Linked DNA regions of Homo sapiens: all the other regions are linked to region 1. Evidence: promoter capture Hi-C in human tissues and cell types (Jung and others, 2019). All regions are on one chromosome and are shown on one strand. The core of a region is centred on a gene start or on the middle of the fragment in contact, and the rest is flanking DNA. Distances in the headings are between cores, read along the strand shown. Region 1 holds the start of COL6A1 (collagen type VI alpha 1 chain). Region 2 overlaps DIP2A (disco interacting protein 2 homolog A). Region 3 holds the start of DIP2A (disco interacting protein 2 homolog A). Region 4 overlaps PCNT (pericentrin). Region 5 has its middle 22 kb from the start of SLC19A1. Region 6 holds the start of LINC01694 (long intergenic non-protein coding RNA 1694). Region 7 overlaps PCNT (pericentrin).

What was found. The method cuts DNA at HindIII sites, captures the fragments that hold promoters and counts their contacts. A contact is called where the count stands out against the background at its distance.
Region 2: a contact is called between a fragment that was not itself captured here and the fragment with the promoter of COL6A1 in region 1, in 1 of the 25 tissues and cell types used here (lymphoblastoid cells).
Region 3: a contact is called between the fragment with the promoter of DIP2A here and the fragment with the promoter of COL6A1 in region 1, in 2 of the 25 tissues and cell types used here (IMR-90 fibroblasts and lymphoblastoid cells).
Region 4: a contact is called between a fragment that was not itself captured here and the fragment with the promoter of COL6A1 in region 1, in 1 of the 25 tissues and cell types used here (mesendoderm cells).
Region 5: a contact is called between a fragment that was not itself captured here and the fragment with the promoter of COL6A1 in region 1, in 1 of the 25 tissues and cell types used here (IMR-90 fibroblasts).
Region 6: a contact is called between a fragment that was not itself captured here and the fragment with the promoter of COL6A1 in region 1, in 2 of the 25 tissues and cell types used here (H1 embryonic stem cells and lymphoblastoid cells).
Region 7: a contact is called between a fragment that was not itself captured here and the fragment with the promoter of COL6A1 in region 1, in 3 of the 25 tissues and cell types used here (H1 embryonic stem cells, lymphoblastoid cells and mesenchymal stem cells).

Annotation. Positions count from the first base shown.
Region 1 is chr21:45,980,230-45,983,765 of GRCh38, reverse strand. COL6A1 (collagen type VI alpha 1 chain) reads right to left here and starts at 1,996. Exons shown (of 35, transcript NM_001848.3): 1 at 1,819-1,996; 2 at 1,003-1,132. The coding sequence starts at 1,915. LOC105372841 (a long non-coding RNA gene) reads right to left here. Exons shown (of 3, transcript XR_937803.3): 3 at 2,200-2,476. RefSeq lists enhancers at 515-1,375, 1,376-2,238. The HindIII fragment of the contact is 42,283 bases long and covers 1-3,536 here.
Region 2 is chr21:46,477,419-46,480,954 of GRCh38, reverse strand. All of the region lies in intron 1 of DIP2A (disco interacting protein 2 homolog A), which reads right to left. Among named protein-coding and RNA genes, the nearest start is that of DIP2A-IT1, 17 kb to the right of the region's middle. The HindIII fragment of the contact is 3,471 bases long and covers 1-3,302 here.
Region 3 is chr21:46,457,017-46,460,552 of GRCh38, reverse strand. It overlaps DIP2A (disco interacting protein 2 homolog A), which reads right to left and starts at 1,662. Exons shown (of 38, transcript NM_015151.4): 1 at 1,331-1,662. The coding sequence starts at 1,421. It overlaps LOC124905046 (a long non-coding RNA gene), which reads left to right and starts at 1,840. Exons shown (of 2, transcript XR_007067915.1): 1 at 1,840-2,226. RefSeq lists enhancers at 469-538, 2,309-2,448 and silencers at 1,259-1,328, 1,519-2,068. The HindIII fragment of the contact is 5,308 bases long and covers 1-2,682 here.
Region 4 is chr21:46,438,346-46,441,881 of GRCh38, reverse strand. It overlaps PCNT (pericentrin), which reads right to left. Exons shown (of 47, transcript NM_006031.6): 42 at 1,680-1,799; 43 at 798-1,027. Among named protein-coding and RNA genes, the nearest start is that of DIP2A, 19 kb to the left of the region's middle. The HindIII fragment of the contact is 3,958 bases long and covers 1-3,536 here.
Region 5 is chr21:45,562,949-45,566,484 of GRCh38, reverse strand. It overlaps a transcript of SLC19A1 not described here. Among named protein-coding and RNA genes, the nearest start is that of SLC19A1, 22 kb to the right of the region's middle. The HindIII fragment of the contact is 6,356 bases long and covers 1-3,536 here.
Region 6 is chr21:45,591,208-45,594,743 of GRCh38, reverse strand. LINC01694 (long intergenic non-protein coding RNA 1694) reads right to left here and starts at 1,090. Exons shown (of 2, transcript NR_146912.1): 1 at 1,036-1,090. All of the region lies in intron 1 of LOC107985485 (a long non-coding RNA gene), which reads left to right. The HindIII fragment of the contact is 4,545 bases long and covers 1-3,536 here.
Region 7 is chr21:46,347,339-46,350,874 of GRCh38, reverse strand. PCNT (pericentrin) reads right to left here. Exons shown (of 47, transcript NM_006031.6): 6 at 3,363-3,418; 7 at 1,689-1,863; 8 at 1,055-1,191. Among named protein-coding and RNA genes, the nearest start is that of PCNT, 25 kb to the right of the region's middle. The HindIII fragment of the contact is 7,749 bases long and covers 1-3,536 here.

The sequences.
Region 1 (3,536 bases), core at 747-3,246:
GAAACTGAGTCATGGGGAGACTGAGTAAAGGCAACAAGGGCGACTCGGGGGACGCTGGGCCACGCGGCCGCCCCTCCCCGGTGCCATCCACAGCCAGACCCCCCCCCAAACACTGCCGCACGGGCCTGGCCATGTCCACTAAGCTCAGGGTTCCTGGTACCAATGGCTCCTGCTGGGCACGGTGTGGGCTGGAAGGTCCACCCTGCTGTTACCGGCAGCCTCTGACTGTGCCCCTTCTGGTGGCGGGAGGCTCCGGCCCAGCGGCCAGTCAGCAGGGTCAAGGAGGACGGGGGTTCCTACGCCGGCTAAGCTGTGTCCCCACTGCCAGGACCCGTCTCAGTGGGGGAGCCCCGTTCTACATGCCCCCCCCTCAGCGGCCCTGTGCACCCACAGGACCGACTCCCCTCTCCCCCCGGTCTGTCCTCAGCCACACGCACAGATGGAGGAACGTGGAGCAGAGGGTGCCGTGTCCCAAGCCCAGAACCAAGCCTGGGGGCCCTGGGGCTGCAGAGCGACACCCCTCCTGGCTCCCGAGTCGGGGACCTTCAGAACGTGGGATCCAGGACCCAGGTAGAGGCTCTCACTGCCCACGGAACAAACCAGGGTCCAGGTGGTTAGTGAGGGGCTCCCGCGCACCAGGCAGGACTGCGTGTCTGGGCCAGTGCGCTGAGCCCTCTCGGTCAGCCTGCGGGAGCCTCTCTTCCCTACATCTCAGCCTCACTGTCACCTCGGCCCTGCTGAACAGGTGCCACCCCCGCGAGCAGGGTCTCAAACCAGCTCACTCTGGAAGGCGCTGGGAGAGGCTCAGACCAGCTCACTCTGGAGGGCGCCGGAAAGGGCCCCGGCCTCACTCTGGAGGGCGCCGGGAGGGGCCCCGGTCAGGGCAACGCTCGCCCAACCTTAGGAGGTTGAGGCCGTCGCACCCGTGTTCCCCTGGGCCCCCACCCCTCCCTCCAAGAGGCCCAGAAGCACAGGAGGAAGGTCACGGGGCGTCCCTCCTACCTGTCCCTCAGGTTGTCGATGAAGCGCTTGGTGAAGGACTTGACTTTGTCCACGAGGGCCCCGTAGGGCTTCAGCCTCAGGGCCACGCTCTCAGAGGTGTCCAGCACAAAGAACAGGTCCACGGGGCAGTCTGGCCGAAGATGGAGGAGAGGGGCCTTCAAGCTCTCGCCCCATTCCCCGAGTCTCTGCTGGGCCTGCCCTCCCGGCCAGCCCAGCGCCTGCAGCACAGAGCCCCGGGCCCGGAGAGGCTCTCCCGGGAAAAGGCAGCAGGACGTCCCTCGGTGGGGACGGTGGGGAGGGGGTGGAGTGAGAGACCCCAAACCGCTCCTGTGCCTCGAGGGGAGTCAGAAACCTTCACAACCTCCCCCGAAGGGCAGGGCGTCCCCGGCACGGGACCGGACAAGTGAGACCTCACGGGAAGGTTTCTCGCTGGATTCAGAACCAGCAGCGCACGACTTCTTCTAGAACGGGGGTCGGGGGGGCCGTGCGTCTGGACTCACTGCCAGGTGAGGGGTCAAACGGATTCACGGGGCGCCGAGACAGCCCCGCACCAGCTCCCCCTCGCCAGGGAGCCCCTCCCGAGCTGCCTGCGGTCCGGCCCCGCTGAGAATGCTGAATGCTGAGCCTCTAGGGGCCCCGGCCAAGGCCCGGTGGGGCAGAGCTGGGCGCTGCAGCCGCCCCGAGCGGGGAGTGGGGTTCAGGGGCTCCAGGCCCCCAGTCTGCAGTTCCACGCGTGGGAGGGGACCCCGCGCATCTGGCCCTGGCCGGCAGCAAAGAGCGGGGGGTCTGGAGCCTGCACCCCAAGCCACCACTCACCCTGGAAGGCCACGGCCCTCGGGGTCTCCGGCTCATCCTGCGCGGCTGTCCAGCAGGCCTGCAGCAGCAGGGGCAGCAGAGCACGGGCCGCCCTCATGTCTGGGGCCTGCGGTCACCACACAGCGCGGCCAGGGCAGAGTGGGCCGCCGCCGCCGCCCAGAGACCGAGGCTGCCTTCTGCTCCCAGCCAGAGTGAGAGCGGAGGGCAAGGAGGGGAGGGGCGGGGCGAGAGGGGCGGGAGGGGAGGGGAGGGGCGGGAGGGGAGGGGAGGGGCGGGGCGGGAGGAGAGGGGAGGGGAGGGGAGGGGCGGGAGGAGAGGGGAGGGGCGGGAGGGGAGGGGCGGGGCGGGAGGGGAGGGGCGGGGCGGGGCGGGGAGGAGCGGCCCATGAGTCACCACCTCCTTGCTGGGGTCTCTCCCTCCAGAACCGGCAGCAGCTCCGAGCCCAGGGAGAAGGCGGTTTCCCTGGCTGGCTCGCCGCGGCCTGCAGTTCAGTTCCCGTGTCAGGGAGGAGGAAACTGCAGCAGCTGAATCAAACGTCTGAAAACCAGCGTGTCACCCAGGGAGAGTTCCTTGAAACATCTTTCGGTAGTTTCCAATCCAGACGTCTCCATGCGGGACGCACGGGCAGGCTCACTCGCCTCTTCCCACCAACCGCCTCCTGCAGAGGACCTCGCCGTGAGCTGAATTGTTGCTTTATCAGATCTCCGCGTTCTTTTTTCACGTCAATATTTCTTCACAGTATAGTCGGATACGTATTTGCCAAAGATATTTCAGTTTGTACCGTGGGAAGACAAAGTTGCTCACAATATAGTTGTTATATATGCTGTGTGTGGAGACAGAGAGACAGAGACAGAGAGACAGAGAGAGACAGTGAGAGAGAGACAGAGAGACAGAGACAGAGAGACAGACAGAGACACAGACAGAGGAGAGACAGAGACAGAGAGAGAGACAGAGACAGAGAGAGACAGAGAGACAGAAAGACAGAGAGAGACACAGAGAGACAGAGGAGAGACAGAGACAGAGAGACAGAGACAGAGAGACACAGAGAGACAGAGAGACAGAGAGACAGAGACAGAGAGAGAGACAGTGAGAGACAGAGACAGAGAGACACAGAGACAGAGAGACAGAGAGAGACAGAGACAGTGAGAGAGAGACAGAAAGACAGAGACAGAGAGACAGACACAGAGAGACAGAGGAGAGACAGAGACAGACAGAGAGAGACAGAGACAGAGAGAGACAGAGAGACAGACAGAGAGAGACAGAGAGAGAGACAGAGACAGAGACACAGAGAGAGGAGAGACAGAGAGAGACAAAGACAGAGACAGAGAGACAGAGACAGAGAGAGACAGAGAGGAGAGACAGACAGAGACGGAGAGACAGAGACAGAGAGACAGAGACAGAGAGACAGAAAGAGAGACAGAGAGAGGAGAGAGGGGCTGTCCCTGATATCACCTGGGGGTGGGCTCCAGATGTGGCCAGATGCATCCCTGGCCCACAGAAGGTCCCAGAAGAGCTTTCCCAAAGCTGGAGCTGCTGAGACTTGCCTAACACCAGCCTAAATGTCTTATAATTTTAAAACGTACACAAATTGTTCATACCAAAAACCATGTTAAAGAAACATTTGAAAAAACCTTTAAAATTGATACTTAATTCCACAACTCCACAGTGACTGTTTTTGGATTGCCTTCAATATTTTCCCCACACCTACGTTACAGAAG
Region 2 (3,536 bases), core at 318-2,817, 500 kb before region 1:
GAGTGTCTGACAAAGAAGTACTTCAGGCAGTTAGCAGCTGGGTGACTCCACAATGGACCAAGTGTGGCTAAGGAAGAAGCACCCCAACAGGGCATGACACAATGGCTGGGAGCCCCAAGGGCCCGGCAGGTTCCAATCCAGTACAGTACAGTCTGCCTTTGGTCAGGTCACTTTTACCGCCTCCAAGGTGGGCACCAGCCAGAAATCAGATACACACCAGAGACCTTGGACCCAAGTGAGCTGGACACAGCTGCCAGTGTTTATTCCTTTGGAAAGGTATTGGCCTTTCCCTTGCTGCCAAAGAACGGGTCCAAAGAGTCCACTAGGTCCCAACTTGGGCCACACAAGCTTACCCAGGATCCCAAGGCAAGGTCTCTGTGCCATGGCAGCTGGGAAAGCCCACAGCTGCCACGACTAGACAGGTCCTACTGGAGGTGCCGACACAGAGCAGGAGGAAACAATAAAATGAGGGATGATCCACACCTGATATGGTCTGGCTCTGTGTCCTCCCCACTCAAATCTCACTTTGAATTGTAATAATCCCCACGTGTCATGGGAGGGACCCAGTGGGAGGTAACTGAATCACGGGGGCAGGTTTTTCCCCATGCTGTTCTCCGGATAGTAAGTCTCACAAGATCTGATGGTTTTATAAAAGGACAGTTCCCCTGCACACGCCCTCTTGCCTGCCACCACGTAGGACGTCCCTTTGCTTTCTTCATCTTCTGCCATGATTGTGAGGCCTCCCCAGCCATGTGGAACTGTGTGTCCATTAAACCTCTTTCCTTTATAAATTACCAAGTCTCGGTTACGTGTTTGTTAGCAGCATGAGAACAGACTAATACAATACCTGACCATAATAAAACTTGAAAACAGATGCCACACAAAAAAAAAAAAAAATACAGGCAGTCTCCAAGCTCGTGACACAGAACAAAAGGTGAGGAAAATCTGTGAAGAGTAATATTTTGCACGGTGGCACCATTCACTGGTAACAGTCGTTCTTAATATAAGCACGTAGAGATTTCACTTTCCAAGCCTTAAAGTTTCCAAACACAGGGGTCTTAAATATACAGATCTAATACACAAAAGTAGAGCCTATCTGACTGCAATTTAAATTATTTATGCAGCCAAGCATGGTGGCTCACATCTGTAATCCCAGCACTTTGGGAGGCCAAGGTGGGAGGACTGCTTGAGCCCAAGAGTTAGAAGCCACCTTGGGCAACATAAAGAGACCCTGTCTCTACAAAAAAAGAAAAAAAACCAATTAGCTGGCTGTGGTGGCACATGCCTATAGTCCTAAGCTACTAGGGAGGCTGAGGTGAGAAGATTGCTTGAGCCCAGGAGTTCGAGGCTGCGGTGAGCTATGATCGCACCACTGCACTCCAGCTTGAATAGCAGAATGAGACCTTAAAAAAAAATAAGCAAATTATTATGCTTAACGCTGAAGAGTATAGATATGCTTCCACAGCAGTGTTTGAATGTCCACTGTCTCATTCATTTGTAATTAAAAGCGGGCTTTTTAAATGTGTAGTAAATATTTTATCTCAGTTTTTAATAAAATATGAAAAATATGTTCATTAAACTGAATACATACACACACATAGGAACTCCATTTATGGCACTGACAAAATTATAGCACTCAGACCAACTCTTCCAATGGGAACAACTAAAAAGATCACATTAAAGTTTTTCTTTAAATCTGAAGACATTACAGAAGTGAAGAACTGAGGGCCAAGTGAAGTCAAAAAGTAATCACCAAGTAGCTGAACTGAGTGGAACTTGGACAGACTCAGAGAGGCAGGAGCTCATCACGGACGAGGTGCCCTGGAAAGCATCCCAGGTTGTTTGTTGGGACTCAGAAGGACCACACCTTGGGTATGAACTAAAAATAGAGCAGCACTCATAAGGACTGGAGCCAGTTTCAAATCACTTTCTCTCTATATAGATTAAAGTGATCTTGGACTGCATCTATTCCCAACCTATCTACCTACCAGATGCAAAAGTAAGCCCTTTGTGGTCACAAATGATCACTATATAGACAATGTCTGGCATTTGATCAGAAGTAATTAGGCACATATGGCAGCAAGAAACTATGACTAAAATCCATGAGAAACAATAATAGAAAGCTATAGAAAATGGAACTTTAGAATAACCATAATCAATATGTTTAGGGAATTAAAAAGCAGGATTGTGAATTTAAAAAAAAAAACATAAATTCTAGGACTGAAAAATACTGTATCTCAAATCCAGGAATAAATTTAATGAAAGGTGTGCAAGACCACTACCCAGAAACTAACAACATTATAAAAACATTACTGAGATAAATTAAAGACCTAAAGAAATGAAAGGATATACCACATTCATGAATCTGAAGACTCAATACTGTGAAGTGTAATTTCTCTCCAAGTGGATCACAAGAGTCAGCCTGAGTAATTCTTGAAAGTTTTGCCAGGCGTGGTGGCTCACGCCTGTAATCCCAGCACTTTGGGAGGCCGAGGCAGGCAGATCACCTGAGGTCCGGAGTTCGAGACCAGCCTGACCAACATGGAGAAACCCTATCTCTACTAAAAATACAAAATTAGCCAAGCATGGTGGCACATGCCTGTAATCCCAGCTACTCGGGAGGCTGAGGCAGGAGAATGGCTTGAACCCAGGAGGCGGAGGTTGCTGTGAGCCGGGATCGCGCCATTGCACTCCAGCCTGGGCAACAAGAGCGAAACTCCCTCTCAAAAAAAAAAAAAATTCTTGAAAGTTTCTTGCATAGAAATTGACAAGCTGATTCCAAAGTATATAGGGAAATACAAAGGGCCAAGATTAGCTAAATCAAGCTTGAAAAACAAAATAAAATTAAAAGGGCAGACTTTACCAGATATGAAGACAGAATGGAGCAGGTGCTAAGATAAGCAAGTAGAACAACACAGCAGAAATCAGTCCGAAGCAGCAGGGGAAGGATAGCCTCTTCCAAATGTTCTGAGTCAACTGATTACCCAACTGCAATAGAAATGAAATCACTCTTCCCTCACACCACGCATGAAATTAAATTCCAGGTGAATTACGCATCTAAATGTGAAAGATGGCCGGGCGTGGTGGCTCACGCCTGTATCCCAACACTTTGGGAGGCCAAGGCAGGTGGATCACCTGAGGTCAGGAATTCGTGACCAGCCTGGCCAACATGGCAAAACCCTGCCTCTACCAAAAAAAAAACAAAACAAAAAAATTAGCTGGGTGTGATGGTGCGTTCCTGTAATCCCAGCTACTCAGGAGGCTGAGGCAGGAGAATCACTTGAACCAGGGAGGCGGAGGTTGCAGTGAGCCGAGATAGTGGCACTGTACTCCAGCCTGGGCGACAGGACAAGACTCTGACTCAAGAAAAAAAAAAAAAAAGAAATACACACACACACACACACACACACAAATCTTTTTTTTTATTTTAGGCGGAGTCTCACCCTGTCACCCAGGCTGGAGTGCAGTGGCGCAATCTCAGCTCACTGCAACCTGACCCTCCTGGGTTCAAGCAATTCTCCTGTCTCAGCCTCCCA
Region 3 (3,536 bases), core at 413-2,912, 480 kb before region 1:
GCATATTATTTAGATGTTTTGAGAAATAACTACCCCAGACCCAGCAAAATCTTATCAATCTGAAACTTAAATTAAGGATAATAAGATTATTTAAAAAATGGATTCTAAAAGCTGAAAATGCATTTAGATCTCAAAAACAGAGTAAGAATCAATTACATGCTTTTCTTCAAGGACTGCAAGTCCTTTCTGACACTGGAGAAGAACTTAACTCTTTCCCAAAGACAGCCAAAAGGAATATCAGGACACAGGCCTTGAAAGGGATAACATCCAAATGGGAAATGCCACCCACCACCTCTGAAGCCAGATTACTCCAGTCTATTTTTATCAACCAACCATTTATACGACTTTTTTTTTTTACTTTAAAAAATTCCATGAGGGGGCTAACAACTCCTAAGTGTTATGTGCTTTGCATATATTAAGGTATTTTAGCCTCATAACAATCCAAAATGGAAAGTGCTGGTATAACCCCACTTTATAGATAATAAAATGAGGCACAGGGTGCAGCTCCTAGAGTATGAGGCGCGCGGCAAGGGCTCCCAGCTCCAAGGGAAGTAGCTGCCTGCGGACAACGGGCGCAGTCATCCTGGTGAAGCCCAGACCAAGCCCAGACCTACAGCCTTGAGAAAAGCGGGGCTCACAGCTTGGGGCAAAAGTGGTCATTCCTCTCAAGATTCTCACACCTGTCCAAACGACCTAGTCAAAGCCAGTCCTTGGGGTCGGATCCCATTGGGGGAGCAGCTGGGGATAGGGAAAGGTCTCCAGAAGTTTGGCAGGCGTCCCGGGGTGAGGAGTAAGGGTCCCAGGTGTGAAGGGCCTGGGGGGAGGAGTCCTTGTATGGGGGAGGGGTCCTTGTATGAGAGGCGGGGCAGTGGTCCCTGGTTTGAGGGGCCGCGCGGGTGTCCCGGGGCTGAGGGTCGGGAGTCCGGAGGGGCAGCGCGGGGCTCCCAGGGTGAAGGGCGGGGTCCCCGGGGTGAGGGGCCGCGCGGGGTTCCGGGGGTGAGGGGCAGGAGGTCCCGGGGGTGAGGGGCGGGAGTTCCCGGGGGTAAGGGGCCGGGGTCTCGGGGCGAGGGGTCGTGCTGGGGTCCCACATGAGGGGCGGGGTCCTAGGGTTGAGGAACGGTGTCTCCGGGGCGAGGGGCGGGTTCCAGGGTAGAGGAACCGGGGTCCCGTTGAGGGGCAGAGGTCCCAGGGGCGAGGCCGCGTGGGGGTCCCGGGGGTGAAGGGCGGGGGTCCTGGAGTGAGGGGCCGCGCGGGGGTCCCGGAGTGAGGGGCTGCGCGGGGGACCGGGCTGAGGGCGGGTCGCGGGGGTTGAGGGCGGGGTCCGGCTCACCTTCCGACAGCTCCAGCTCCAGCTCAGCCAGGCTCTCCCGCACCTCGGCAGGCAGCGGCGCCGCCTCCAGCGGGCACCCGCGGTCAGCCATGGCCAGGCCGGCTAGCGTCCGGGCAGAGGCTGGAACCGGACCGGGCCTGGCGGCGGCAGCGCAAACCTCGGCTACGTAGCTCCCCTCAGGCCAACAACCTACATCCGCCAGGCGAGGAGCGGGAGGCGGCGGGACAGGGGCGCGGCCAGGACAGCAACGCACCCGCGCGGGCACGAGCGCGGATGGCTCCGCCGCGCCGCCGCTGCCCCGCGCGCTCCTGAGCGCCCGGCCGGCCCTACACGGGAGCGCGTGCGCGGCGGGAAGGGCGGGTAGCGAGCGCGCGTGCGCAGTGGGTCTCGGGCCCGCGCAGCCCTCCCGGCCCCGCCCAGCAACACCAGAGCCTCGCTTCCATTGGCCCCGAAGACGCGTCGATGCCGCTCCGGGCTCCCATTGGGAGAGGCGGGAGAGCGCCGCTCCCGACAGGCTCTGCGCTGGGCCTGCTTGAGGGTGGCGGGCTTGAGGCGGGCAGGCTGCTTAGTTGCGGCCCGAGGCGCCTAAGTGGGGATGACCAACCCGTGGGCGTTGGCGCTGACCCCTAGGCGCCGCTGGTGGCCCCGCGCGCGGCCCTCCGGCCAGCCCCGCCCCTCTCGGGGCTCCTCCTTGGTCCCCGCGCCATGGCGCGTCCGCGTTGACCGCTGTCTTCCCTTTCGGGCTGTGCTGATCGCGAACGCTGCGCAGTCCGTGGTGGCGTCGAGGCACCTTTCTCGTGCCTTTACCTGTGTTCACTCCTTTGCTTTAAAAAACAGCCCTAGAAGTACACATCGTTGGCCCCGAAGGAGCCCCAGCAGCCATGTCGGACCGCGAGGTGACCTTGGAGGGCGGGAGGACGGACGAGGGGCCTGGCGGAGCTAGACTGAGAGGGCGCCGCCGGCGTCCTGAAGGCCCTGCTCCCCGAATGTGTGGGAGTGTGTCTGACGGTGCGAGGGTGGCTGTGGCGGGGCCTGAGCAGCGTGTCCGTGTCCCGATGCCGCCCGCCTGTTACTGAGTTAGGCAGGAGTGCCCGAGTCTGGCGAACTTCAGCAGTTCTCGTTCCAGAGCTCCACACGAGGTTGGCCAAAGCTTTGCGGGACTTACATACCCTTCTTCCTCCGCCCAGTCCTGCTTCCTTCCCCTTCCTTTCACGGGTGTTGATACCATGTCAACATCCTCGTACCCCAAACTCAGTCGCAGCGTCTGCTTCTGGAGAAACCATTCTGCAGCATTAAAGCTGGTGAGAAGATGGGATTCGAGGCTGCATCACTCACCAGTGGTGAAGTAGGAGGGTGAACTAGTGAAATGGAATCCACGAGTGGGTGAAGTATCAGACATTTCATATATGGTGAACGTAGTAGATAAAAGGAAGGAAAGGGGGATTGGATAGCTATTGCTTAGTGCCAACCGAGACTCTTAAGAATAGTGGTCAGCTGAAGGCAAGCAACAAACAGTTGTAAGCCAGTGAATCTGTCCCGTTACATATAGAGAAGCTTCATTTACTGCAGCAGGTCAAAGACAAGAACCAGGCCCAGGAATTAACATCCCTGTTTGACTGAACTCCAAAAATAGCAAAACACCCAAACAAGGCAATACTCTTCCACTAAGTTTGGATCCCTGCTAAGAAAAGATGAGGCTGGGCACAGTGGCTCACACCTGTAATCCCAGCACTTTGGGAGGCCAAGGCGGGAAGATTGCTTGAGTTCAGGAGTTCAAGACCAGCTTGGGCAACATGACAAAACCCCATCTCTACTGAAAACACAAAAAATTAGCCGGGCATGGTGGCCACGGCTGTGGTCCCAGCTGCTTGGGAGGCTAAGGTGGGTGGATCACCTGAGCCCTGGAAGTCAGGGCTGTAGTGAGCTGTGACTGCACTCCAGCCTGGGCAACAGGAGTGAGACTCTGTCTTTTAAAAAAAAAAAAGAAAGAAAAGAAAAGCCCGTCATACATGGGTTGGAGATACCTGGGTAGATGCCTTCAAAGGTTTTGACTCCCCAAACTGCCTTAAACCTTTTTTTCGTAGACAGTGTCTCACTCTGTTGCCCAGGCTGGAGTGCAGTTGCTGGATCATGGCCCACTGTAGCCTCAACTTCCTGGGCTCAAACGATCCTCCCACCTGAGCCTCCTAAGTAACTGGGACTACAG
Region 4 (3,536 bases), core at 488-2,987, 460 kb before region 1:
CCCTTGGTGGCAGCTACCCTAGGCAGTGCCCTCACAGGGACACAGAGACTGCTCCTTTCTGGGACACCACTGCCTTCAAAAGATCTCCCCTCCTCGACAGGAGGTAGGATCTGGGTCTGCTTACCTCCCCTATCTAGTGCCTAAAATGCTTCCTCCTGCAGGGTGTTCTCCCCATGAACACAGGATGGACAGATGGGTGGGTGGAAGGATGGACGGTGGAGGCCTACGGTCAGGGGAGCTCAGAGACGAGGAGACAAAGTGCCCCAGGACCAGAGAAGCTGAGAGTACAGCAACCCAGGAGGCCTCGCCTGCACCCCACTTTGGCCCAGCCTGCAGCCGCGATGACTGAACTGGCTCGGCACCTGGTCTCTGAAAGGAGCGGGATTCCTAGCTGCTCTCTGCTGCATCTGCTACTCCAGACAGGCCCGCGCGTGGCCTTGGGAAACACCTCTGTGGCATCAGGGAGCAGGCACAGCCGCACAGTGTTTAGGGGGAAAAACAGTTTTAGAAATTCAGCACGTTCTTTGTGGCACGAAACCCATTAAAAGTCAAGATGTTCCTCTGTAATACAAAGGTGCCCTTAAATCTTTAGTTTTAGAAGGTGAGAGATTCATACACATGACTTCTTGAAGACAAGTTCATCATCTGTATTTTCTCTAAGGCCTCAAATGCCATTCATCTTTAAAAAGAACATATTATGGAGTTTCAAGGAATAAAATGACCAAAAAACCATGCAGTGTGCTGCCCACTCACGGAGACAGACGCGGAACGCACTGACTGAACGTCATGGCATTTACCTTAATATTGCAATGACCACCCTGACGGCCGTGCGGAACCTGGTGAAAGGACGAGATGTGATTTTCCGTTCTGCTTTGGAAGGAAATACCCCCAAATGGGCAATCATGGAGAGTGTTTCTTGTTCAGAATCCTGGAATCCACCAATCAACAGCAAAAGATACTTCTTTTGATAAATCAGAGCTTTTCTAAAGCTCTCTGCTCTCAAGTAATGCAGGTACAATTTTTCCATCTAAAAGAAAAAAAGCAGTAAAATTTTATCATAGGAAACAAAGACTGTCTTGCTGACAAAAGCACATTAACACCATTGCTCTTTCCAAAGAGTCAGATTGTTTTTTCCCATCAAATCATCACAGAGCCATCGGCCTTCCAACAGTATCTGTGGCCAGAAACAACCTTGCTGTTGGAAGATCAATTTGTGTTTGTCAGACAAGATCTAGGACCACAAGCTCCTCTCCACAGCATCATCAAATGAGCCCCTATGAAGCTTCTTGCATTTCACCCCTTAGGTAAGGTCCAAACTGGGCATGAGATGGACGTCACGGGGTGGGGACCGTGTGCCATCAGGAGACTGCAGCAGATCTTGGGCCGAATCCCGGCAAGCCCCTGGGCCAGGCCTCCCTCAGGCTGCAGAGGCCGCCATTTGCTGACTTTGTCAAAGCCTTCCACGTTCCACGCTTAACAAGCACAGAAACTCAGTATTTGTGCACAATTAAAACAAAATTCAAGCCGAAGTTTATTCTGTGAACGTCCTTTCCTTTAGTGATGTGACTGCTACACCCGGCAGACGAGAACCTTGTGGTCACAAAAATGCTTTGCCTGCAATTTGCAAACCCAGGACTTAAAAAAGCACCAAAGTTCTATACTCGTGGCACCGTTCCTACCTTGACATTGCTGGTGTGTGCTTCCTCGCTGGCAGCTGGTGGAAGCCGGCCGGGGTCTGGGCGCCTCAGGGAACTCTGTGGAGCCGTTTCGTCTGGCTTCCAAGCAGACCTTTCCGACCTCTGTAAGGAAGCACAGCCAGCGCTGTCTACAGAGCTGCTCGTCAACAAGAGCATCTTAGAGACGCAGCCGGGGGCAGGTGAGGGAGAAGGCCATGTGCGGGGAGGCCAGGCTGACCACACCACACCTGGCCCCTCCTCAACTTCAGCACCCCCTCAGCAGGGCCTAGGTTACGCCGTGCTGTGATCAGCCAAAGAATTAACATGGAGTAATTACGACATGCCACTTGCTGAAGTATGATTGCAAAAAAGGTACATTTTAACAGAAACAGAAAACCAATTCTTTGTAAAATCACCCCAAATTCAAAGCTTTAAGCCTTAAACACTCTCATATTCTCCGGTCCTAGAAATGCCAACCACTGGTAACTACAAGCACAGTCAACTCTCGACAGCTGTGGGTTCCACATCCATGGATTCAACCAACTGTGGGTGAAAAATATTCAGAAAAAACGATGTGTCTGTACCAAACGTGTGCTTCTTTTCTTGCCCCTACACCCTAAACAATACAGGATGACAACTATTTACGTGGCATTTACACTGAATGAGGTGCTGCAAGTGATCTTAGAGATGACTTAAGAGTGTACGGGAGGACGTGCACAGGTTGCTGCTGACACCACTGCAGGTCAGGAGGCTGAGGCAGGAGGATCCCTGAACCTGGGAGGTCAAGGCTGAAGTGAGCTGTGACTGCTCCACTGCACTCCAGCCTGGGAGATGCAGCAAGGCCCTGTCTCAGAAAAAAAACCCAAAAAGTGAAAAAAGCCAGTTTAGGAGGTCCCAGACGGGCTGGTTCCACTGACACACCTTTCTGGGAGAGAGCCAGGGCCTGTGGCAGGCGGAGATGCCTGCTGCTCTTTTTGGGGGGGCCATCGCTGTGTGCTCTGTGAATGGTGGTTACTTATGAAGGTTACAGGGATGTGTGTGTGTGTGAACTTGTATGACACTACACCAGGAAAGGGCAAATTTTACTGTATGTAAATTTAAAAATAATTTTTAAAAAGTTATAAAAAATAAAGCAAATCACAAACAAAATAGCCTAAATACAAAAGAAAAAAAAATGAGACATTCCGGAAGATAACTCTATCCAACTATACCATTATGAAAATTATAAGTCACTTTAGGCCGGGCACGGTGGCTCATGTCTGTAATCCCAGCACTTTGGGAGGCTGAGGTGGGCGGAATCACGTCAGGATTTTGAGACCAGCCTGGCCAACATGGCAAAACCCCATCTCTACTAAAAATATAAAAATTAGCCATGTGTGGTGGCGGGCACTTGTAATCTCAGCTACTTGGGAGGCTGACACAGGAGAATTGCTTGAACCTGGGAGGTGGAGGTTGCAGTGAGCTGAGATCGCACCACTGCACTCTAGCCTGGGCAACAGAGCAAGACTCGGTCTCAAAAAAAAAAAAAAAAAAAAATTATAAATCACTTTAACTAAAACTCTAAATTAGATCAGATTATAATATTCTTAGTCAAAATACCCTTTTATGAACATGCACCAAACATCAAGTAGCGGTCAGGGTCAGTGAGGACGCCGTCTGTGGCGGAGCTGGAAGTCGGCTGAGATGTTCAAACATCCCACAACATTTAGCAAGGCTTCAGACAGAGGCAACAGAGCCTGGCGGTTAGGGAGAAGGTGACGCCCACATCCCCAGGTCCCTAAAGGGAGCCCGGCCTCTTGTGGGGTGGAGCTGCTCTGGACCATGGTGGGTTAGGCTGAGGCAGGTAAGAGTTAAGCACAG
Region 5 (3,536 bases), core at 1,013-3,512, 420 kb after region 1:
AAAAGAAATACATGGAATGTGTACAGAATCATGTAAGATGCTCAGTTAAAACCAGAGAAGGCAGAAAAAGAATCTCAAATTGTGTTTTCATCTTCAACCAGTTTAAAATACTTTCTAATTTCCTTGTTCGTCGTTTCTTTGACTGGTGGGTTATTCAGATATCTGTTTTCAGTTTGTAAATATTTAGAGATTATTCAGAAATCTTTGTATTATTAATACCTGATATATTTCCGATTGGCCAGAGAACATACCATGATGCAGTGAAACCTTCAAATTTATTGGGAATTTTTTTTTTTTTTTTTTTTTGAGACGGAGTCTCGCTCTGTCACCCAGGCTGGAGTGCAGTGGTGCGATCTTGGCTCACTGCAAGCTCCACCTCCCGGGTTCATGCCATTCTCCTGCCTCAGCCTCCCCAGTAGCTGGGACTACAGGTGCCCACCACACGCCCGGCTAATTTTTTTTGTATTTTTTTAGGAGAGACGGGGTTTCACCATGTTAGCCAGGATGGTCTTGATCTCCTGACCTCGTGATCCACCCAACTCAGCCTCCCAAAGTGCTGAGATTACAGGCATGAGCCACCGCACCCGGCCGGGAATTGTTTTATGACCCAGAATACGGCCTATTTTGGTAAATTGTTTGTGTACAGATGAAAAGAATGTGTATTCTCCTGTTGCTGGGTGACATATTTGATAAATATTAATTTGGCTGATAGTATCCTTCAAGTCTTGTCTGCCTTTACTAAGTTGTCTATCAATTTGTTCTATCAGTTATTGAAATGAGGTGTTGAACTCTCTGACTGTAATTGTTGGTTTGTGTACTTCTCCTTACATTCTAGCTGTTTCTGCTTCATGTATTTTGAAGCTTTATTAGGTGCGTACATGGTTAGGGTTGTTAAGATCTCTTGATGAACTAATCCCTTTATTATTATAAAAAATCCTCTTTATTTCTTACAATGTTACTTATCTGATATCTACTTTGATATTGTAATAGCCACTCTGGCCATCTTTTGAATAGTGCGATGGTATATATTTTTCCATCTTTTGATTTTAAGCCAATTTTATATATTTATATTTAAAGTGTTTTTCCCTGTCAGCAACATAAAGTTGAGTCTGGCTTTCTTATCTAATCATATAATCTCTGCCCCAGTTGAATTGTTTGGGCAATTAGAACATGACTGTGATTATTAATATGATTGGGTTTAAATCTATTATCTTACTTTTCTTCTTATATTTGTTCCATCTGTTATTTTTTCTTTTTTCTGCCTTCTTTTGCATTGTGTTTTTAATTCCATTTATCTTCTTTGTTGGCTTATTAGCTATAATTCTTGTTTTTTCTTTTATTTGTAGCTTTAAGATAAATAGTATGTATCTTTAACTTACGCAGTAATGTGATATTAAAATAGCATCTTTCCATCCCCTCTCACACCTTTTTTGCTGTTGTCAAACATTTTTAAAACTCACACGTTTTTAAACCTCACACTTTTTTTTTTTTTGAGACAGGGTCTTTCTTACTCTGTCATCCAGGCTGGATTGTGGAGTGCAATGGCACGATCATGGCTCACTGCCACCCTGACCTCTCGGGCACAGGAGGTCCTCCCACCTCAACCTCCCGAGTAGCAGGAACTATGGCATGTGCCACCATGCCCGGCTAATTGTTTGTATTTTTTGTAGAGATGGGGTTTTGCTACATTGCTCAGGCTGGTCTTAAACTCCTGAGCTCAAGCAATCCGCCCGTCTCGGCCTCCCAAAGTGCTGGGATTACAGGTGTGAGCCACCGTACCTGGCCAACCTCACACATTTTTAAACCTCACAATACATCATTAGGTTTTTTCTTTTCGTTTTAAGCAGTTGGTTATCTTTTAAGGATATTTTAAAAGTAAGTTTTTAATATTCGTCCACATATTTTCCATTTCCAATACTTTTTATTCCTTTGTCCAGCTTCAGATTGTCCTTCTGTCCGACGACTGCCTTTAACATGTCATATGACATTTGTCTACTGTTGATGAAATCTTTCAGTCTTTGGATTCCTAAAAAAGTCTATTTCACCTCCATTTTTAAAAGATGCTTTTCTCGGGTATAGAATTCTAACACTTTTTAAAAATCTGTTGGTACTTTCGGCCGGGCGCAGTGGCTCATGCCTGTAATCCCAGCACGTTGGGAGGCTGAGGCGGGTGGATCACAAAGTCAAGAGATTGAGACCATCTTAGCCAACATGGTGAAACCCCATCTCTACTAAAAATACAAAAGTTAGCCAGGCGTGGTGGAGCATGCCTGTAGACTCAGCTACTCAGGAGGCTGAGGCAAGAGAATTGCTTGAACCTGGGAGGCGGAGGTTGCAGTGACCCGAGATCGCACCACTGCACTCCAGCCTGGCAACAGAGTAAGACTCCGTCTCAAAAAAAAAAAAAAAAAAGAAAAAAGAAAAAAAGAAAAAGAATCTGTTGGCACTTTAAAGAGGTTGCTCCATGGTCTTCTCACTTGCATTGTTTCCAATCAGAAATCCATCCTTATCCTTATCTTCATTCCTCTGTATGTGAAGTTTTCCCTCCCTCTAGTTGGTTTTAAGAAATTTCTCTTTAACACAAGTTTTGAGCAGTTAGATTATAATGTGACTTGGTGTTGTTTTCTTAATATTTCTTGTGCTTGGGGTTTACTGAGATTCTTGGATTTGTGGGTTTACCTTGTTCAAATCCTTGTTTTACAACTTAAAGTGCCTTAATATTACACACGCATTAGGGCACTTTAAGTTGTCCTGTAGCTCACTGATGCTCTGTCCATTTTTTAAGTATTTTTTTCTGTGTGTTTTATTTTGTACAGTCTCTATTGCTGTTGCTGTGTCTTCAGGTTCACGCATCTGTTCTTCTTCAATGTCTAATCTGCGGGGATCCCATCCAGTGTACTTTTCACCTCAGACGTTGTAGTTTTCATCTCTAGAAGTTTGATTTGTGTTTTTTTTTTTAAATCTTCAATGTGTCTCCTCCTAATACTCACTCTTTTCTTTACCATTTTGAACATAAAAATATAGTTACAATAATTGTTTTAATGTCCTTTTCTGCTAAATCTACCTTCTTTGTCATTTCTAGATCTGTTTCTATGGATTAATTTATATCCTCATTTTGGGTTACGTTTTCTTTTTCTTTTTTGCATGCCCACTAATTTTTGATTGCATGCCAGATATTCTGAGTTTACTTTGTTAAATAATTGACATTTTTGTCTTCCTACAAATATTCTTGAGCTTTGTTCTGGAATGCAATTAAGTTACATGGAAACAGTTTGTTTCTCCCGAGGCTTGCTTTGAACGTTTCAGGCAAGGTCAGAACAGTTTTTAGCCTAGAACGAGTTTATCTCCCCTACTGTGGCAAAGCCTTCTGAGTGCTCCACTCCACGTCCCATGGGCCATGAGATCTCTGCTCTGACTGGCGGAACAGGCAACATTCCTGCCTGTGCATGAGCTCTAAGGGTCACTTCTGCTTCTCTTTCTGATGGTCTTTCCCTGGCCTTGAGTATTTGCCTCTCACACCTGCACAGATCCGTACA
Region 6 (3,536 bases), core at 351-2,850, 390 kb after region 1:
TACATGGTAGAAAATAATGATAATGTGTCCGGCACGGGGGCTCACACCTGCAATTTCAGCACTTTAGGAGGCAGAGGCAGGAGGATCACTTGAGCCCAGGAGTTTGAGACCAGCCTGGGCAACACAGCAAGACGCTGTCTCTACCAAAAATTTTAAAAAATTAGACTGCATGGTTGTGTATGCCTGTAGTACTGGCTACTGGGGAGGCTGAGGTGGGAGGATTGGTAGAGCCTGGGAGTTGGAGACTGCAGTGACCTGTGACGGTGCCACTGCACTCCAGCCTGGGTGACAGAGCAAGACCCGAAAAAATGAAAAAGAAAATAATAACAATAGTGATTTCCAGAGTTTGACATGCAAGTAGAGTTAAAATACATAAGAACAACAGAACAAAGGGTGGGATGGAATAAAGGGGTGATGTAAATCTTTGGTGGTCTGGTAAGAGATAGCAGGAAGAATTTACACTGGACTTTAACATGGATAACTACTGAATGAACAGTAATTCATAACTGGCAGGCTAAGAGAGGATAAACATGGAATAAAAAATAATCGAAGCCACGAGGAGAAGAAGGAACAGGGAACAAGTAGGAAAAACAGAAAACAATTCATAATGCCAGAATTCAAACGCAGATAATGGAATCAAAACAAAAGAACCAGAAAGTTCAATTCAAAGATAAAGATACACTGGATCCTGCAGGAGACACACCCTCAATGTAAGGCCACAGAAAGATAAATGGAAAGGGAGGTCTGGAAAGCTGGGGTGGCTGCATTAACACCAAGCAGAGGAACCACGGGCAAGGAGCTCAGCAGACCAGGGTCAGCTGGTGGCATGGGGCCCAGCCCACGGGAAGATGCCAGCCTCAAACTACAGAAAACAAAGTTGCAGAGTCCAAGAAAGAAGAAGAGAAATCCACAATCATATAGAAAAATTTAAAACATCTCCTGGTCACCAATAAAGCATGTGTATTAGTCCCTTTTCATGCCGCTGACAAAGACATACCCGAGATTGGGAAGAAAAAAAGGTTTAATTGGACTTACAGTTCCACATGGCTGGGGAGGCCTCAGAATCATGGCGGCAGCAAGAGAAAATGAGGAAGAAGCAAAAGCAGAAACCCCTGATAGGCCCATCAGATCTCGTGAGATTTATTCACTCTGGCGAGAATAGCACAGGAAAGACCGGTCCCCGTGATTCAATTACCTCCCCCTGGGTCCCTCCCACAACACGTGGGAATTCTGGGAGATACAATTCAAGTTGGGATTTAGGTGGGGACACAGCCAAACCATATCAGCATGCAAGGAAAATACTAGCAAGAGTACGCAGTATTTGAATCAATCACCTCACTGATGTTTAAATCACTGCACGTGACAGGCGCATCCCAGGGCAGAGCAGCCGCCAGTGCTGAAATGACGGGGCCATGGGGTGATGGGACCGTGGGGCGACGGGGCTGTGGGGCGACGAGGCCGTGGGGCGACGGGGCCGTGGGGTGATGGGGCCGTGGAGTGATGGCGCCATGGGGCTTCTTGGGGGTACACCCTATGTAACTGGAGAGGATGAAGTGAAGTTACAAAGTCATTTACTTGGCCCATGCCCTATGGAGAGGATATTTCCTGTGGTAGCTGAAGTGTGAACTGCCTTATGCTCCCTGCCTCCAGACCCAATTTTCCTGCCTCAACAGGCGCAGGTTTCCCTGTCAGCCCGCTCTGCACTCCTGCACTCCTATCTGATCACCGGGTGTTATCTTTAAATCACTGTCAGATTTGTGTAGTGATTTCTGTAAGTTTAGATTTTTGCACCCTTGTTCCCAAGCAAAATTGGCTGATGATTTTCTTGTGCTGTTGACGGGGCCCCCGTTTGACCTCATCCAGACCCTATGGACGGGTGGCCATAGGCGGGCCACGGTTGACTGACGGAAATGTGGACGCATTGTTTTCCTCTATTTCAAGCACTGTCATCGTGAACATCCTTGTGCATGTGTGTGTTGTATGTCCACCTGGTGTATTGTGTGTGTGTTACCGAGAATTCTGTGTTCGGATGGATTTTTTAACCGACAAGATCCACAGAGCCAGAGCTCTGAACCAGCAATCTGGGTTCTTGTGACAGTGAGCAAAGAACTGCAAACACCAAAATGTAAGCTTAAAACAAGGTTGATTGAAATTTCCAGTAATACTGTCTCAGAGGGTGTGCAGGCTGATTTCTGAGAAGTGACATCAGCACCTGGTTACAGAGCTCAAGGTGCTTCTGTGGGGTGTGAGAAGTAGCTGAGGTTTGGGCTGAGTGACAGGCTGATGTCATTTGGCAGCTTATGGTGACACAGCTAAAATTAAACTGTGCATATTTTTACCCATAATTCATTAAGAAAAGCCCAGTGTGGGGGGGCCACATGTAAATGTTATTACAGTTTTAGGTCACTGGGCACATGCTGCTCTAGGGATTTCTACCTGTGCCCTGGTTTCCCCTTCCACAGGACATGCTGGCCACAGGTTTCACTTCAAACTCCGTCCCTCATGGTGGAGTTAGGGCGGGCTCGGGGCTGAACTTAGGTGGGCCAGGGGCTTAATGACAGCTTCTCTGTTCTCCTTTTTACCCTCTCCCAGCTGCTGATGTGTGTCTAACTACCTAACACGTCTATGTGGTGTGTTTTTTTGTGTGTGGGTGGTGTGCATGGTATGTGTGTCTATGTGGAGTGTTTTGTGTGTGTGGTTTGTGTGTGATTTGTGTGTCGACATGGAGTGTTTTGTGTGTGTGTGGTGTGCGTGGTGTGTGTGCCTATGTGGCATGTTGTGTGTGTGTGGTTTGTGCGTGAGTTGTGTGTCGATGTGGAGTGTTTTGTGTGTGTGGTGTGCGTGTTGTGTGTGTCTATGTGGCCTGTTGTGTGTGTGGCTGGTGCGTGATTTGTGCATATGGTGTGTTGTGTGTATGTATGTGTGCGTGGTTTGTGTGTCTATGTGGAGTGTGGGTGTGGTATGCATGGTGTGTATGTGGTGTGTTGTGGGTATGTATGCGTGTGTGTGGTTTGTGCATAGTGTGCATGGTTTGTGTGTCTATGAGGTGTGTGTGTGTGGTTTGTGTGTGGTGTATCTATGTGGCATCTTGTATGTGTGTGGTGTGTGTCTCTATGTGATGTGTTTTGTGTGTGTGGTGTGATGGTGTGTCTATGTGGCGTGGTGTATCTGTGTATCTGTGTGTATGTCTGTGGAGTGTTGCATGTGTGTGTGGTTTGTGCATGGTGTGTGTCTATGTGTAGTATGTATCTCTGTGTGTGTGTCCATATGGAGTGTTGTGTGTACCTGTGTATGTGTGTGTGTGCCTATGCGGAGTGGTATGTATCTGTGTGTGTGTCTTATGTGGAGTGGTGTGTATCTATGTGTGTGTCTATGTGGAGTGTTGTGTGTGTCTATGTGGAGTGTGTGTGGGTGTCCATATGGAGTGTTATGTGTATCTGTGTGTGTGTGTGTGTCCATATGGAGTGTTGTGTGTATCTCTGTGTGTGTGCCCACGCATGCAAGGGTTTCTCGGGCAGGGCCTGGGAGGCGCGTCC
Region 7 (3,536 bases), core at 607-3,106, 370 kb before region 1:
TCCTCCTCATGGAAACGGCTCCTCCTACCTTTCCCAATCATGGGCATCAGGACCAGAAGATGCTACCAGCCCCCTCTTTCCCATCTCGGAGGGAGAGCCTGGAAGGGACCAGGGAGAGACTGGGGGTGTGGAGTGAGCCCCGGCCTGGACTCTCTGCAGGAGAGGAGGGTGTGTGGGCACCAGAGTCCCGCTGGGAGACACAAGGGGCCCAGGACAGGCCTCCCTAAGACCCTAGACCCCAACTACTTCCATATTCTCATGTTTGTAAATCTTTCACACACCACGATTAACCCTATCTCTGATTTATGCTTTAATTTCTTCAACTGATTCTTGGGATACTCAGTTTGAGTCTCAGGTTTGTCAGGCCTCCAATGAGGACCTGGCCACATCAACATTTTGATTGTAGTGCTTCATTAGAGAAGCATCTTGAATACACACAGCAGAAAGAAATGCTTGTTAACTTTTCCTAGGAATCTCGTGTGTACTGGATCACGGTTAGAGGATGTGGCCTTACACTCCTACCTAGTGTCTGCGATTTGTGTAACTGTCTCAGGGACGCCTGCAAAGAACATGCATTCCTAAGTACAAGATTGAACGTAATTATTAAATCAGTCTCAGAGACTATATCCTTACACTTTTATTCACCACTAACACTCTATTTATTTTTTTATTTCATTTTATTTTATTTATTTGCTTTTGAGACGGAGGCTCGCTGTTGCCCAGGATGGAGTGCAGTGGTGAGATCTCAGCTCACTGCAACCTCCACCTCCTAGGTTCAAGCGATTCTCGTGCCTCAGCCTCCCGAGTAGCTGGGATTACAGATGCCCACCACCATGCCTGGCTAATTTTTGTCTCAAACTCCTGAGCTCATGATCTGCCCACCTTGGCCTCCCAAAGTGATAGAGTTACAGGCGTGAACCACTGTTCCCAGCCAGTCTCTTTAAATTTAGAACTTAAGTTTTAGCAAATAACACAATACGAAATAGCCCAATTCCAAAATCTGTTAAAACTTCCCTAATATACCAAGTAATTAAATAACGAAGCTGCTGCCCACCTCCAGCTGTTTTTCTTTCTCGCTCTCTTTGAACTTGAACTCCAAGTCTTCTAAACACCGGCCGTGCTCGGACTGCAGGTCTTCACGTAACTTCTCAATGGCTGCTTGATGATGACTCTCCAGGTTCCTAAGGGCCCCTAGAAAGGTAAAGCAATGGCACTTGGTTTACAAGACATCACTCTCCTCAACAGCGACCTCAGTGACAATAATGGTGCACCCAGAGCGCTGCCACCCAGAGCCCCATCCTGGGCGCCCCCGGGCCCCTCGTTTGAGCCTCACATGCCTGATAGCACCAGGGGACATCGCCTACCCATGCCACCCACCATGAGGGTCAAGCTGGAACACACAACCCTGGAGTATGAAAAGTGAACAACCACAAAGCTGCTGCTTTGTAATAATTTAGCAACTGAACATGCCAAGAAAAATCTCTGAAACAAAGATCAGGAAGGTTTAAGGACCCTGAGAGACCTGTGACCCATGACGGCCACCAGCGTGTCACACGTGCATGGGGCCATCCAGCATTTAGAAGGTAGGAAACGTGCGCAATGACGCATGGTGACATGAACGACATTCCTTCCAGTACTACCTAGGAAAATTCAGTCCCACTCCAAACTTGCTCATTTTCATTACTTACGTTCAGCCTGGTTTTTGTCTTGAAAAATCTTCTCCAACTCAGCTCTCTGTTCTGCCAATTCTTTCTGAAACTGGTTTTGTAAATCCTCCATTTCTGATTGATGCTTTGCAGACAGTTCTTTGCGTAGATTTTCTAAACATAAATCTTTTTCAGATTCCCAATCTTCCTTCAGGGTCTAATTTAAAAGAAAAAAAAATTAAACTCAATAGTTGATTATCTGTGCTAAAGAAATTTAAATCACACAGTCAAAACCTCTGAGCAGGCCAGGCAACGTGGCTCATGCCTCTAATCCCAGCACTTTGAGAGGCTGAGGCAGGCAGATCGCCTGAGCCCAGGAGTTAGGGTTACAGACCAGCCCGGGCAACATAGTGAGACCCCATCTCTACAAAAAAAAAAATACAAAAATTAGTGGGATGTGGTGGCATGCAACTATAGTCCCAGCTACTCGGGAGGCTGAGGCAGGAGGATCAATTGAGCCCAGGAGGTCAAGACTGCAGTGAGCTGTGATTGTGCCACTGCACTCCAGCCTGGGAGGCAGAATGAGACCCTGTCTCAAAGAAAAAAAAGAATGGGCAGTCATGGCCCCCAACTAAACTGTCCTGACAGGCCTTACACCCAGTCTCTCCCCTGAATGCTGGCAGGACAGAAAAGCAGAAGCATCCAGGAGGCAAGCAGTTGAGGAAAAGTGAGCAAGGACCACCCACCACAAAACAGACTGCCATCTGCACACGAGGACCACCCACCCTGAAACAGACCAGCCTCTGCACAGGGACAACCCACCCTGAAACAGACCAGCCTCTGCACAGGGACCATCCACCCCAAAACAGACCTGCATCTGCACAAAGCGAGAGGACCACCTACCCTGAAACAGACCAGCCTCTGCACAAGGACCACCCACCCCGAAACAGACGAGCCTCTGCACGCAAGGCCTAATCCACACAGTCACCCTCAAAGCGTTAGTAATACATCTCCCTATAAGTCCCAGGGGCCAATGGCAACTTTGCCAACCTCCACCCAAGGGCTGGGCTCTGTCCCAAGTGTTCTGAGAAATGGGTCTCACTGCCTGCGTCAGAGGAGCAGGTGACCGGAACACAACCCCAAGCCTGGACTAACACCCATCGTCTGCCAAGGGCCTGAGAGCTGCCCAGATGCCTGACTCAGGAAGGGCCTCCACACTCAGCATGGCTGACAGCTCAGCCCTCTAGCGGAGGGCCTGGCAATGACGGGGCACTGCTACCTGTGGTCCCCAGTGAGGCCACCCACAGCAGGTGCAACCCACCCCACCCAAAACCTCCTCCCTGTGTGGTATTCTCCCCGGCACCCCAGCACCCACACCCCATGCACTGCAGGGAACTGCCACATCCACGAGGGCAGAGGCTGTGTCCCAGAACACAGCTCAGGGGCAGGCCATGGGGGCCACTCAGAAGACAGCATGGAGGGGCCGAGCAGTGCCTTTGTGTTATGCAAGTCAATGTGAAACAACAAAACAAGTTTTCTGACAAATACAAATGATATAAATAAACAAAGAACGCAATACACTTTCAACCAGCATATTCTAATAAAGCCTCGACTGGCTTCTGTCTGAATCAAGGTGAGGAGCGTTCTCATGGGACCTGGCGAGAAAGGAAAAACAACATACACAGAGGCGTGCATTTTAGAATCGATCCCGGGTACCTTTACTATCTGGGCGTTTTTCTCCATTTCTGATTGTAACTTCTCCTTCAGCTCAGCTGCAAGAAAAACAAAAAGCAGCTCAGGCCACTCCATCTCAACCTTTTCAGTGACCCAACTGCCCAGGAAACGACCAGGCTCTGGCACCCACTGGACACGTGCCAGCATTCACGGGCT